Regions from separate parts of the Homo sapiens genome. Here region 1 is linked to region 2. The links are contacts of gene promoters, found by promoter capture Hi-C in blood cells and fetal thymus (Javierre and others, 2016). All regions are on one chromosome and are shown on one strand. The core of a region is centred on a gene start or on the middle of the fragment in contact, and the rest is flanking DNA. Distances in the headings are between cores, read along the strand shown.

Region 1 (6,405 bases), core at 210-2,709, 490 kb before region 2:
GATGGGTGCGGCAAACCACCATGGCCCATGTATACCTATGTAACAAACCTACATGTTCTGCACATGTATCCCAGAATTTAAAGTATAATTTTAAAAAGAAAGAAAAAAGAAGCTGGCAAAGAAGTAAAAAAAATAAATATTATCTATGATATATATATTTCCAAATCTATGTCTCTAAACCACAACCCCTTTTTTGAGTTACAGGCTTATTCATCCAAATGTTAACATGTTGTTTCCGTCTTGATATTTCCACAGCTGAATGCTTTATCTTCTCACCCAAATCTACCTCTACAGTCGTCCTCATTTAAGTATACGACCCCCCTAGAAAATTGTTTCACCTTCAAATTCCTCTCTCTTTTCTCCACCATTAAACCAATCAAACAGAAACTAGTGTAGAATCTATCCTCAAAATGTATCTTGAGCCCATTGCTTCTATATTCAAAAATATAAATAAAATTATAAACAATGAGAAAAAAATTGAACATTAAATATTTAATAATATTGGAAATTTATTGTTAATTTTGTATGTAGTCAGTATTACAATCATTTTTAAAGATATGCACTGAACCATATAGATAAAATTATATGTTGTCTAGAAATTGATTTAAAATAATCTGAAGTATAGGTAAGTAGGGAGGCATAGATGAAATAAGATATGCCATACAGTGATAATTATTGAAGCTGGAAGATAAGCACATCAGGTTCATTATGTTCTATTTTTGTCTATGTGTATAAAATTTCATAATAAAGTTATACATAAATTTTTAAATGGGTTGCCTCAAACAATGTAAGGAAACAAGATAATGTTATACTTTATAGATGTATTTCAATAAGTTCTTTGTCAGCCATATGATGTGGTAAAAACAACGGCCATTTACCCTGACATTAATTGCATAAAATGATTCAAAATTATCAAGAAGACTCTATGAAATATAGTTTATATCCACTATCTTTAAAGATTAGTCTTTCTCTAAGTAGATTTTGTACTTTAAAATATTAATGATCATTTTAAAGCCATCAAAATTACTAAGGCATAAATCACCATACAGAATTATGAAGACAAATATCAACAGGTTTTTTTAATAGTGGTTCAAAGTATCATGCAATAACTAACCCAGGACTTCACAATATTTCATTAAATATGTAATAAATATTTAATCTCCTACCTAAGGATTAAAGAAAAACTATATACCATTGGGAAACATTGTTCTTTCTACAGTAAATGCATCTGGAAAATAAAACACCTGGGAAATAAAACAGGTACAAATTATAATGCATTCTTTTGTTAGAAAATACTATTGGAAGACACAAAAACCTTGAGGATTTAAAGAAATAAATATTACCTGGTGTGGGAAGTTTGTTATACAATTGGATAAAAGTATATCTGTTTTTCAGCTTATGATATATTCTAGTATTCTAGACTTTTTCCAATGATTTTATATATATATAAATATAAATAAATATATATAAAACACTAACTTTATTGAGAATAACAAAAAGTATATTCAATGATCTTTTCTACTTATAAATTATTTCTCTAATGTATGTATAAAAATTTTAAACTACTTGTTGATGGAGTAACAGCTTTGACTATAATAAGAAAGAATAATAATTTCCAGAGTAAGTTGTAGAGAGAGCAAATCACATGAAATTTTGGCACTCCATTGTTCAAAGACAAAGCAGATGAAAATACAGCAAAGCAGGTGAAAAAGAAGTGCACAGAGTGCTACCAAATGTCATTGATGTAACTGATTTTACAAAAACAAGATCTTTTTTTTTTTATTAAAGTTTTAGGGTACATGTGCACATTGTGCAGGTTAGTTACATATGTATACATGTGCCATGCTGGTGCGCTGCTCCCACCAACTCGTCATCCAGCATTAGGTATATCTCCCAATACTATCCCTCCCCCCTCCCCCCCACCCCACAACAGTCCCCAGAGTGTGATATTCCCCTTCCTGTGTCCATGTGATTTCATTGTTCAGTTCCCACCCATGAGTGAGAATATGCAGTGTTTGGTTTTTTGTTCTTGCAATAGTTTACTGAGAATGATGACTTCCAATTTCATCCATGTCCCTACAAAGGACATGAACTCATCCTTTTTTATGGCTGCATAGTATTCCATGGTGTATATGTGCCACATCTTCTTCATCCAGTCTATCATTGTTGGACATTTGGGTTGGTTCCAAGCCTTTGCTATTGTGAACAATGCCACAACAAACATACGTGTGCATGTGTCTTTATAGCAGCATGATTTATAGTCCTTTGGGTATATACCCAGTAATGGGATGGCTGGGTCAAATGGTACTTCCAGTTCTAGATCCCTGAGGAATCGCCACACTGACTTCCACAAGGGTTGAACTAGTTTACAGTCCCACCAACAGTGTAAAAGTGTTCCTATTTCTCCACATCCTCTCCAGCACCTGTTGTTTCCTGACTTTTTAATGATTGCTATTCCAACTGGTGTGAGATGGTATCTCATTGTGGTTTTGATTTGCATTTCTCTGATGGCCAGTGATGATGAGCATTTTTTCATGTGTTTTTTGGCTGCATAAATGTCTTCTTTTGAGAAGTGTCTGTTCATGTCCTTCGCCCACTTTTTGATGAGGTTGTTTGTTTTTTTCTTGTAAATTTGTTTGAGTTCATTGTAGATTCTGGATATTAGCCCTTTGTCAGATGAGTAGGTTGCAAAATTTTCTCCCATTTTGTAGGTTGCCTGTTGACTCTGATGGTAGTTTCTTTTGCTGTGCAGAAGGTCTTTAGTTTAATTAGATCCCATTTGTCAATTTTGGCTTTTGTTGCCATTGCTTTTGGTGTTTTAGACATGAAGTCCTTGCCCATGCCTATGTCCTGAATGGTAAAGCCTAGGTTTTCTTCTAGGGTTTTTATGGTTTTAGGTCTAACGTTTAAGTCTTTAATCCATCTTGAATTGATTTTTGTATAAGGTGTAAGGAAGGGATCCAGTTTCAGCTTTCTACATATGGCTAGCCAGTTTTCCCAGCACCATTTATTAAACAGGGAATCCTTTCCCCATTGCTTGTTTTTCTCAGGTTTGTCAAAGATCAGATAGTTGTAGATATGCGGCATTATTTCTGAGGGCTCTGTTCTGTTCCATTGATCTATATCTCTGTTTTGGTACCAGTACCATACTGTTTTGGTTACTGTAGCCTTGTAGTATAGTTTGAAGTCAGGTAGTGTGATGCCTCCAGCTTTGTTCTTTTGGCTTAGGATTGACTTGGTGATGCAGGCTCTTTTTTGGTTCCATATGAACTTTAAAGTAGTTTTTTCCAATTCTGTGAAGAAAGGCATCGGTAGCTTGATGGGGATGGCATTGAATCTGTAAATTACCTTGGGCAGTATGGCCATTTTCATGATATTGATTCTTCCTACCCATGAGCATGGAATGTTCTTCCATTTGTTTGCATCCTCTTTTATTTCCTTGAGCAGTGGTTTGTAGTTCTCCTTGAAGAGGTCCTTCACATCCCTTGTAAGTTGGATTCCTAGGTATTTTATTCTCTTTGAAGCAATTGTGAATGGGAGTTCACTCATGATTTGGCTCTCTGTTTGTCTGTTGTTTGTGTATAAGAATGCTTGTGATTTTTGTACATTGATTTTGTATCCTGAGACTTTGCTGAAGTTGCTTATCAGCTTAAGGAGATTTTGGGCTGAGATGATGGGGTTTTCTAGATATACAATCATGTCATCTGCAAACAGGGACAATTTGACTTCCTCTTTTCCTAATTGAATACCCTGTATTTCCTTCTCCTGCCTAATTGCCCTGGCCAGAACTTCCAACACTATGTTGAATAGGAGTGGTGAGAGAGGGCATCCCTGTCTTGTGCCAGTTTTCAAAGGGAATGCTTCCAGTTTTTGCCCATTGAGTATGATATTGGCTGTGGGTTTGTCATAGATAGCTCTTATTATTTTGAGATACGTCCCATCAATACCTAATTTATTGAGAGTTTTTAGCATGAAGGGTTGTTGAATTTTGTCAAAGGCCTTTTCTGCATCTATTGAGATAATCATGTGGTTTTTGTCTTTGGCTCTGAAAAACAAGATCTTGACAATACTTTGTAATGAGGTGGAGAGTAACCATAAAAATCTTTTGTACCTCATGAAATTCCCCCAGTTCCGCTATGACAAAGTACTTAAAAGATGTCACGCTTACTGATAAGATACCCATTTTCCTTTTACAAAAAGTCATGTGATCCAGATTTGTTGAGCTTTTCTTTAATGCTATGTGGCTATCAGTAGAATACACTGTTGCATATAATTTTTAAAATAAAGAAAGAAAGGAAAATCTGTCTCTTCAAATTAAAAGTGATGCTCCACTTATCTTTTGTATCTTTTGTTTCTGTTTTCGTTTTCTAATAGCCATCATAACAGGTATTAGATGTTATTGTGATTTCAACTTGCATTTCCCTGATGTTTAGTGACATTACACACTTTGTCATATACCTGTTGGCCATTTGTATGTGTTCTTTGGAGAAATGTCTATTCAAATCCTTTGTACATTTTTAATAAGATTTTTTTCATCGAGTCATAGTAGTTCCTTATATATTTCAATGTTAACTCTTTTATCACATATATGATTTGCAAGTATTTTCTTTCATTTTGTAGGTTGCCTTTTCATTTTGTTGATTGCTTAATTTCCTCTGCAGAGCTTTTGGTTTGATGTAGTCCCATTTGTAGATTTTTACTTTTGTTGTTTGTGCTTTTGGTATCACATTTTTAAAAAATTGGCTAGACCAATATCATGAAGCTTTTTCCCTTTTTTTAAAGGAATTTTACAGATTTAAAAAATAGCAAATGTTGGAGAAGATGTGGAGAAATTGGAACCTTTGAGCATTCTTGATGGGAATGCAAAATGGTGCAACCACTATGGAAAACAGTATGGCCATTCCTAAAAAATATTAACAATGGAACTACTGTATGATCCAGCAATCCCATTTCTGGATATATAAGAATTAAACTCAAGATCTCAAAGAGATACCAACACTTCCATGTTTACTGCAGTAGTATTTAAATAGGCAAGATATGGAAACAACCTAAATGTCCACCAGCAGATGAAAAGATAAAGAAAATGTGGCATATACATACCACATTCAATTCTTTGAATGAGGAAAACCCTGTTACATACAGTAACAAAGAGGAAACTTGGGGACATTATGCTGAGTTAAATTAGCCAGTCACAAAAGAAGACATATTGCATGATCACACTTATGTGTTCAAGTATAAAGTTTCAGTTAGGCAAGATGAATAAATTCTAGATATTTGCTGTACACATTGCACATATAATTAACAATACTGCACTGTGCACTTAAAAATTTGTTAAGAAGATTTCACGTTGTGTTCTTATCACAATTTTTAAAAAGTTATGCTTCAATGTTAAGTGAGGAATTGGCTGATTTTTCTAAAATTTTAGAAAAAATGATTCTGAAAATGTGTATTGAGAAATATTTTCATGATTAAAAGCTTGTGTTGCTATAAATCATGTGTACCACCTCTAAAACCTTTCATATCTGCACACTTAAGAACATGGAAACAGAATTACTTAACCCAGCTAAATATCCTCCAAATGAAGTATTTCAATATGTTTTGAATCCGATTTTGATGACTTTTAAAAGACTAATTGCCTTAGGGAAGATGGATATTACAAACAGAATTTCAACAAAACTCTAGCATGATTGGTGTATGAGAGTTAAGAATAAACATTTTATAGAGCAATAACAATGAATAATATACTTCTTTATTTGGATCTGTTTATTGATATCTGTTATATTTTTCACATATAACATTATACCACTAAAACTAAGTATTGAATTGAATTGTGCTTGGAACTAGAACTTTAATTCTCAATATCACATTGTTTTAAAAATAATACAACTATTAAACCACAAAAATATTATTTATCATTATTATTGGCAAAAAAATATTTTCATAATTTATAACCTATTTTAAATATGATTTATGACATCTGATGTGGTTTGACTCTGTGTCCCCATCCAAATCTCCTCTCGAATTATAATCCCCACATGTCAAGGGAGGGACCTAGTGGGAGGTGATTAGATCATGGTGGCAGATCCCCCCATGCTGTTCTCGTGATAATGAGTGAGTTCTCATGAGATCTGTTGGATTTATAAGGGGCTTTTCCCTTTGCTCAGCACTCATTCTGTCTCCTGCCACCTTGTGAAGAAGGTGTCTGCTTCCCTTTCTGCCATGATTGTAAGTTTCCTAAGGTCTTCCCAGCCATGTGGAACTGTAAGTCAATTAAACCTCTTTCCTTTATAAGTTACCCAGTCTTGGGTATTTCTTTATAGCAGTGTAAGAACAGACTAATACAGTAAATTGGTACTGCACAGAGTGAGGTACTACCATAAAGATACTTGCAAACGTGGAAGCAAC
Region 2 (7,097 bases), core at 3,236-5,735:
GTGCTGGGATTACAGGCATGACCCACCATGCCCAGCCCATAATTCTTATCATAAAGAAAGCAATCTGCTCATACAAAGCAGGCTAATTTTAGGTCAGTAAGATTACTTTCTCTTGGTATTTTGCTATAAAACTTCACAAATGACAAAGAAAACATACTTACTTTCAGGGATACCAATTTAGATAGATCACCTATCTGGGATATATTATTGTCTGATAAATCGAGATGCTGTAGAGCTGTGCAGCTATTGATCTGTTCCATGGCCTATCACAAGAAAAGCATCACACTATTTAATGAAAACAAAATCAAAAAATAAAATTATTCCCTAGTTCTTTGCAGCTGAAAGAGTGTCTTCCCTCCTCTTATTATTAGAAGCAGAGTAGAAGAACTTAGCAAGAGAAAAGGGGCAGTACTAACAGAATTTAGTAGATTGTCAGGTTGTAAACGTACACTTTCATTATCTCTCTATGAGTAGAGGGCTACCAAGTAGTTCATACCATCCAAGATCTTTACAGCTTGAAAAAAAACATAGTAATGGCCAGGCGCTATGGCTCACACCTGTAATCCCAGCACTTTGGGAGGCCGAGGTGGGTGGACAGCCTGAGGTCAGGAGTTCGAGACCAGCCTGGCCAACATGGCGAAACCCTGTCTCTACTAAAAAAATACTAAAAATTAGCCAGGCATGGTGGGCAGGCGCCTGTAATCCCAGTTACTCTTGAGGCTGAGGCAGGAGAATTGCTTAAACCCAGGAGGCAGAGGTTGCAGTGAGCCAAGATCGTGCCACTGCACTCCAGCCTGGACAATAAGAGCAAAACTCCATCAAAAAAAAAAAAAAAACAAAAGAAACCATAGTAATAATATATGACAGTTGGTGGTATAGAATAGAGTTTACAAGTTTAGATTAAAACCAAACAGCCTGGATTTACATTCTGGCCCTGCAACTTCCTAGCTGTGTGACCTTGAGCAAGTTACTTTTCTGTGCTTTAGTTCCTTCACCTTTATAACACGCATAATGTCTATATCTACTTCGCAGGCTACCATGAGATTGAATAAGTTAATACAGATAAATGTTTAGAACAGTAGCTCAGATACATTAATGGCTCAATAAAAGGCAGCTATTGGTAATCTAGTCCTCTCAGCTAGCATGCCAAAAAATAAGACGCAGAAATATGTATTAATTTACCCAAAATTACACAGTTACTAAGTAGTGCAAGTAGGACTAGAATTCAGATCTCCTAACTTTTAAAACTGTATATTCTCCCTTATAGCATTAAACATTTACTTAAAGCTTAATTCAGCATGATATAGTCTCCCTCCTAAACACTCTATGGTTTGATCTACTTTTTTCTAAGTACAATATAGATTCTTTGTTCAAATTTAAAAGAATATTATGTCATATTATATGTTTCAAAATGAGATTTATTTTTAGTTTATTTTAACAGAGATTATCCCTGGAGAGTGGGAGTGGGTACTTTCACTTTTTAATTTGACTTATTTCTACATTGCTTGAATTTTTTTTACGCAGAATAGTTTTGTAAACAAAAAAGAAACCATTCACCTTAAGATTATTTCCTGCCAAATTCAGCCATTCCAGATGTACTAGTTCCTTTAGCCCTTCCACACAGCCAATGCTATTATGAGGCAAATTTAATACACGAAGCAACGTCAGCTTGGCCACACCCATCATCCGAACCAGCCGATTATTAGCTACTGATAACTGTAAAAAGGAAACATATTGTTATTTTTAGGAATAACATATATAAAATATTTCACATTAAAGTGATTTAAAAGGTTTATTTAGACAGCCAAACACTCTCAAACAAACTCCTTTTGTACATTTCACATATATTGTCTAAATATTCTACAGTATGACTATCAGTTTTTTGTTATTGTTCCTGGGCAATAGAAAATACAGATAAAGCTGAGCGATCAGACCTCCTCTAACTACTAAGACATTTTTAACACAGCAACAACTTGAGAATGTAAGTTCCACAAGAATAGTGCTGTTAAACTCTCAGTCAAAACTTAATACAGTGCCAGACATATAAGAGGGACGCAGTAACCATTTCTTGAATGAAGGAATGAATGAACTCTTTACCCCCATCATGAGGTAAAAGGTTACCTTAGTAACACAGTATTTTGCAAAATAAAATGCTTCCTTTTCTTAACAATGCTTTTTTTTTCTAATCTACTCTCAATGTAGTACATGTATGTTCATCTTCAGAAGAAACTGTCATGTAAAAATTTAAGGCAACAATGACTGCTTGCTAGGGCTGCACAGTTACTTTTTGTCAGGTTATTTTATTGTTTTGTTTAATAATAAATTGATCCTATGTAACCATTTCCCAGATTGCAATACCTACCTGTATTAATCGTTTGCATTTCTCCAGATTTTCCAATTTAATAATCTGATTTTTATCCAGAATCAAAGTGTGAATATCAGCTTCACAGGGTAAATTTGGACCTAATTTCTGTAGTCCCTGTCCTGACCAATTGACCACTGATCCTTGAAAAGAAACGGAAATGTTAGAAAACACAAATAAAATAAAACATGTACAACAGCTAAGCATAGGGCTGGAATTATAAAATCTCTATACCATTTCAAGTTAAAGAACAGTAGAGCATAATAAATATCAACATTGTAAAATTAAAGCAATCTTGAGTTCTAAATGACCAGATTGAATTACTCATTTTTCTTCAGAAATATCAAATTAAAACTAGACGTGTGATATTCTCCTCAAGTTGCTAAGATATACTTTGAAAATTTTCACATTTAAATATGGACGATTACTTCCATTTGTTGTGCCTAAGTAATGATACTATTGTTTAAATGTTACTAAACTTTTGACTGCAATCCACCAGCTTACAGCCTAACTACCAATATATCCTAAAGTGCCCAAACTGTGATTTTGAAAATCAAAGTATAGTTCAACTAATTCTCCCATAAAATAGGATAATACACCCATTTCCCTAGCTTGATATGAGAATTAAAAGAGAAACCATATGAATAGTACTTAGCCCCGTTCCTGCCACCGGGCACTCAATAAGGCACTTTAGTATAACATAGACGTTCAAACCCTGGCTCCACCAATTAACCATTGTGGTATATTAGGCAAATTATTGATTTCTTTTGGGCTCCCTTTTCTACTCTGTAAAGTGGGGATAATACCTGCCTTATAAATGTAGTTCTACAGAGAAAATGAGATAATGTAAAAAAAAAAACAAAAAAAAAAAGGACTGAGAACATCGCCTGGGTCATACAAAGTGCTCTGTAAATGTTAACTGCTATTAACAGTTAAGTAGCCCTGGTGGGCTTGAGAGGTGTGGTTTAAGAAAAGCCGATCTCCAAAGAGGGCGGGGCCAGAGAAACGGCCAATTTCAAATTTACACCCAGATTAGGACTACTGCAGGAAATAATTATGCCAGATTGCTCTCCTGGAGGATTTCAACGTTTTCCCGTTGTCTAATGGCTCTTAGCATGTGAGGAGTCGTGAGCCCCTCTGAAAAATTGATGAAAGGGGTGTGCTGTCTCAGAAAAGTGCACAGCCTTTGTACACAATTCCAAGGGGTCGACAGAGAGGTCTGAGAACCATCCACCAACTCTTCCCCCAAGAATTTACAGCTCCCAGAAAATGCACTCCTGGTCTAAGCCATGAAGACGGGCCTCGACCCCTGGGCCCTGTCCCCGATTTAGAGGACTGACTGCTGCCAAGCCTCGGAGCTGTAACCAAAACAAAAGCAGCTCGCGTCCGGCGCCCCAAAGAGGTAGGTATCTTCAGGCCACAGAAGCACCCACACAGTCCTGTGCTCTACTGGGCAGCGACCAAACTCGATCCTAGGACCCGTGTGCAAGAACAAGGAGTACAGAACTGCGGGCTCTGGATCATCCCTTAGATTTTATCACGGCCACTGGCCACCTCCGAGGAAGGGTTCAAAGCCAGACTAGGCAGCGGTCTCTGAGGGAAGGTTTTCCTGATGGTTCCAGGAACCAAGAAGAGAGGGAGATGTGTGAAGCGAAAGAGGGAGATCCCAAACATTTCGCTTAGGCACCCATGACTCAAAGTAAATGGTCAAGAAAGGTCATCGCAGCCCGAAATCCACCGCCTCCTCAGCATCGGGAGCGCGGGAGCCAGGGCGCCGGGCCGCGCGAAGGCTTCTGGGGGCTGTAGTCCCCCGCTCGGCCCTCACCGCGACGCCGGAGAGCTGGGAACGGCAGGTGAACTACAACTCCCAGAGGGTAGCCCGCCTCCGCGACGACCACAGATCCGCATCAAAAGAACTGGTCCAGAACTGCACATCTAAACCTAGGTTTTCTGCTCTCCACTATTTAATTCAGCTCCGTGAAGTAAACCTTAGGACTCGGGGTAGGGATCGCCTTACCTTCTCCGGGAGGCAAAGCCGCGTCCACGCGCGCCACCGCCATATTTGCTGCTTGCTAATAATACCAGGCAACCGTCCTCCCGCGGCTCTGTGGAGCTTGTAATCTGAAGGAGGGAGCCGGAAACTATAACTCCCAGGATGCACGGCTCCCAGACGGCCCAATTGGCTGCTTACGCCTAATGATGTGAAGCTGGAGTTAGAATCTGAGGGTAGTGAGCTCAGGGACCCTGGCCCACTCGCTTATTTGACAGATGAGTCAACTGCGTTATTAGATGATCATTTCACTTCCTTGTCCAGGCGTTTGCGAAATTTGACACTTTTACCATCGGGATGATTGTAAGGAAGCTACTTAATGCAGACTGCATTTTACAACTCATTGCTGGAAGTCTCTGTGGGGGCTGCTCCATTCTTTTGATAATTGTGAATAAGTTGAAAGTTTTCAACTCCGCTATAGGAATGACCGATCTTGTTGAGATCATAAAAGTGGATACATTTTATTTGAAATTTTAGTTAAGTAAAAGTAAAGTATGCCGAAATAGAAACTTTTATACAGTATTTTTAAGTGATTGTTTGATTGTTCTTGAATATTTGACAAATCTTTTGACTTACGGGTATAAGTATGAACCAAGAACTTTTCCAGGGAGTATTCAAAATAACTTTAAAATATAATCTCCAGGCCGGGCGCAGTGGTTCACGTCTGTAATCCCAGCACTTTGGGAGGTCAACGCAGGCTGATCACCTGAGGTCGGGAATTCGAGACCCGCCTGGCCAACATGGAGAAACCCCGTCTGTAGTAAAAATACAAAAAAATTAGCCTGGCGTGGCGGCGCATGCCTGTAATCCCAGGTACTCGGGAGGCTGAGGCAGGAGAATCGCTTGAACCCGGGAGGCAGAGGTTGCAGTGAGCCGATATCATGCCACTGCACTCCAGCCTGGGCAACAAGAGCGAAACTATGTCTCAAAAATATATATATTTTATATAGATATTGCATATATTATAATTATATATAAATTATATATTATATATGTTATATATTTAGATATTATATATTATATGTTATATATTTAGATATTATATATTATATATGTTATATATTTAGATATTATATATTATATATGTTATATATTTAGATATATTATATATGTCATATATTTATATATTATATATTATATATGTTATATATTTAGATATTATATATTATATATGTCATATATTTAGATATTATATATTATATATGTTATATATTTAGATATTATATATTATATATGTTATATATTTAGATATATATGTTATATGTTATATATTTATATATTATATATGTTATACATTTATATATTATATATGTTATATATTTATATATTATATATTATATATGTTATATATTTATATATTATATATTATATATGTTATATATTTATATATTATATATTATATATGTTATATATTTATATATTATATATTATATATGTTATATATTTATATATTATATATGTTATATGTTATATATTATATATGTTATATATTTATATATTATATGTGTTATATATGTTATATATTATATATTATATATGTTATATATATTATATATTATATATTATATATGTTATATATTATATATTATATATGTTATAGATTTATATATTATATATTATATATGTTATATATTTATATATTATATATTATATATGTTATATATTTATATATAAATATAGATTATGTATATAAATATATTTTTATATAGTCTCCAAATTCAAGAAATACATTGCCTAGTTGGAAGAAAGCAGGCTCACACTTTTTTCTTTTTTTTTTTTTAGAGACAATTTTTTTTTGCCCAGGCTGGCCTTGAACTCCTGAGCTCAAGTGATCCTTCTGCCTCAGCCCGGCAAAGTGCTGGGATTACAAGCGTGAGCAACGGCGCCGAGCCTTCTTTTGATGCAACTATTATATGCTAAACGGTGTGATTGTGACTGAGCTCACTAATATTTCAGGGAATTGAGAAAGAAATAGAATCTGAAATCTTCAGTGAAGACTTGATGGAGGAAGTAAATGTACCCATCTTTTGATGGGTAGACTGAACAGTTAGTTCTAAAGTAAAAGGTGAAAAGACAGCACAGGCTGCAGGTGGTAACGAAGTTGTGCTCACAGGAAGTGAGAAACTAAACAGAGTATACAAAAAACTTCTGCTTTCTACTACCAGCTCTCCCACTTCCTCTTGCAACCTTTATTCTGAACTCCCCTCTTTCTGAAACAGCAATCTGCAAAGTCTGATCATTTTTGCTTGGGAAAATCTAGTAATTCATGCTTCTAGATTTCCAGGCACTGGATTCTCTGAGCATTCCCCCTTTCCTGGGTTCTCCTATCTCTCTACACTTGTTTTAACTCCTTTCGATTCTTGTTTCCTGCTGCTTTGGTCTAAAGACAAATTTCCTAGTTCTGAAGGGGCAATTAAGACTAGGATTTTTTTCCTTTTAACCAAGAAACTCCTTACCTAGAGAACACAATCTTACTATATGTGTAAGAACAAAGTAAGGCCGGGCGCGGTGGCTCACGCCTGTAATCCCAGCACTTTGGGAGGCCGAGGCGGGAGGATCACCTGAGGTCAGGGGTTTGAAACCAGCCTGGCCAACATGGCGAAACCCCATCTCTACTAAAAATACAAAATTAGCTGGGCATAGTTGCACATGCCTGTAATCCCAGCTACTTGGGAGGCTGAGGCA

Evidence for each region. Contacts are between HindIII fragments. The CHiCAGO score rates a contact against its expected background, and 5 or more counts as called.
Region 1: a contact is called between a fragment that was not itself captured here and the fragment with the promoter of CEP97 in region 2, in 1 of 17 cell types (total CD4 T cells). The highest score is 5.4, in total CD4 T cells.

What each region holds. Positions count from the first base shown.
Region 1 is chr3:102,213,097-102,219,501 of GRCh38, reverse strand. No RefSeq gene overlaps it. Among named protein-coding and RNA genes, the nearest start is that of ZPLD1, 220 kb to the left of the region's middle. The HindIII fragment of the contact is 6,610 bases long and covers 1-4,764 here.
Region 2 is chr3:101,722,002-101,729,098 of GRCh38, reverse strand. CEP97 (centrosomal protein 97) reads right to left here and starts at 4,485. Exons shown (of 11, transcript NM_024548.4): 1 at 4,380-4,485; 2 at 2,363-2,505; 3 at 1,558-1,716; 4 at 162-263. The coding sequence starts at 4,422. RefSeq lists enhancers at 3,007-3,618, 3,790-3,859, 4,140-4,509, 6,646-6,705. The HindIII fragment of the contact is 6,095 bases long and covers 1,290-7,097 here.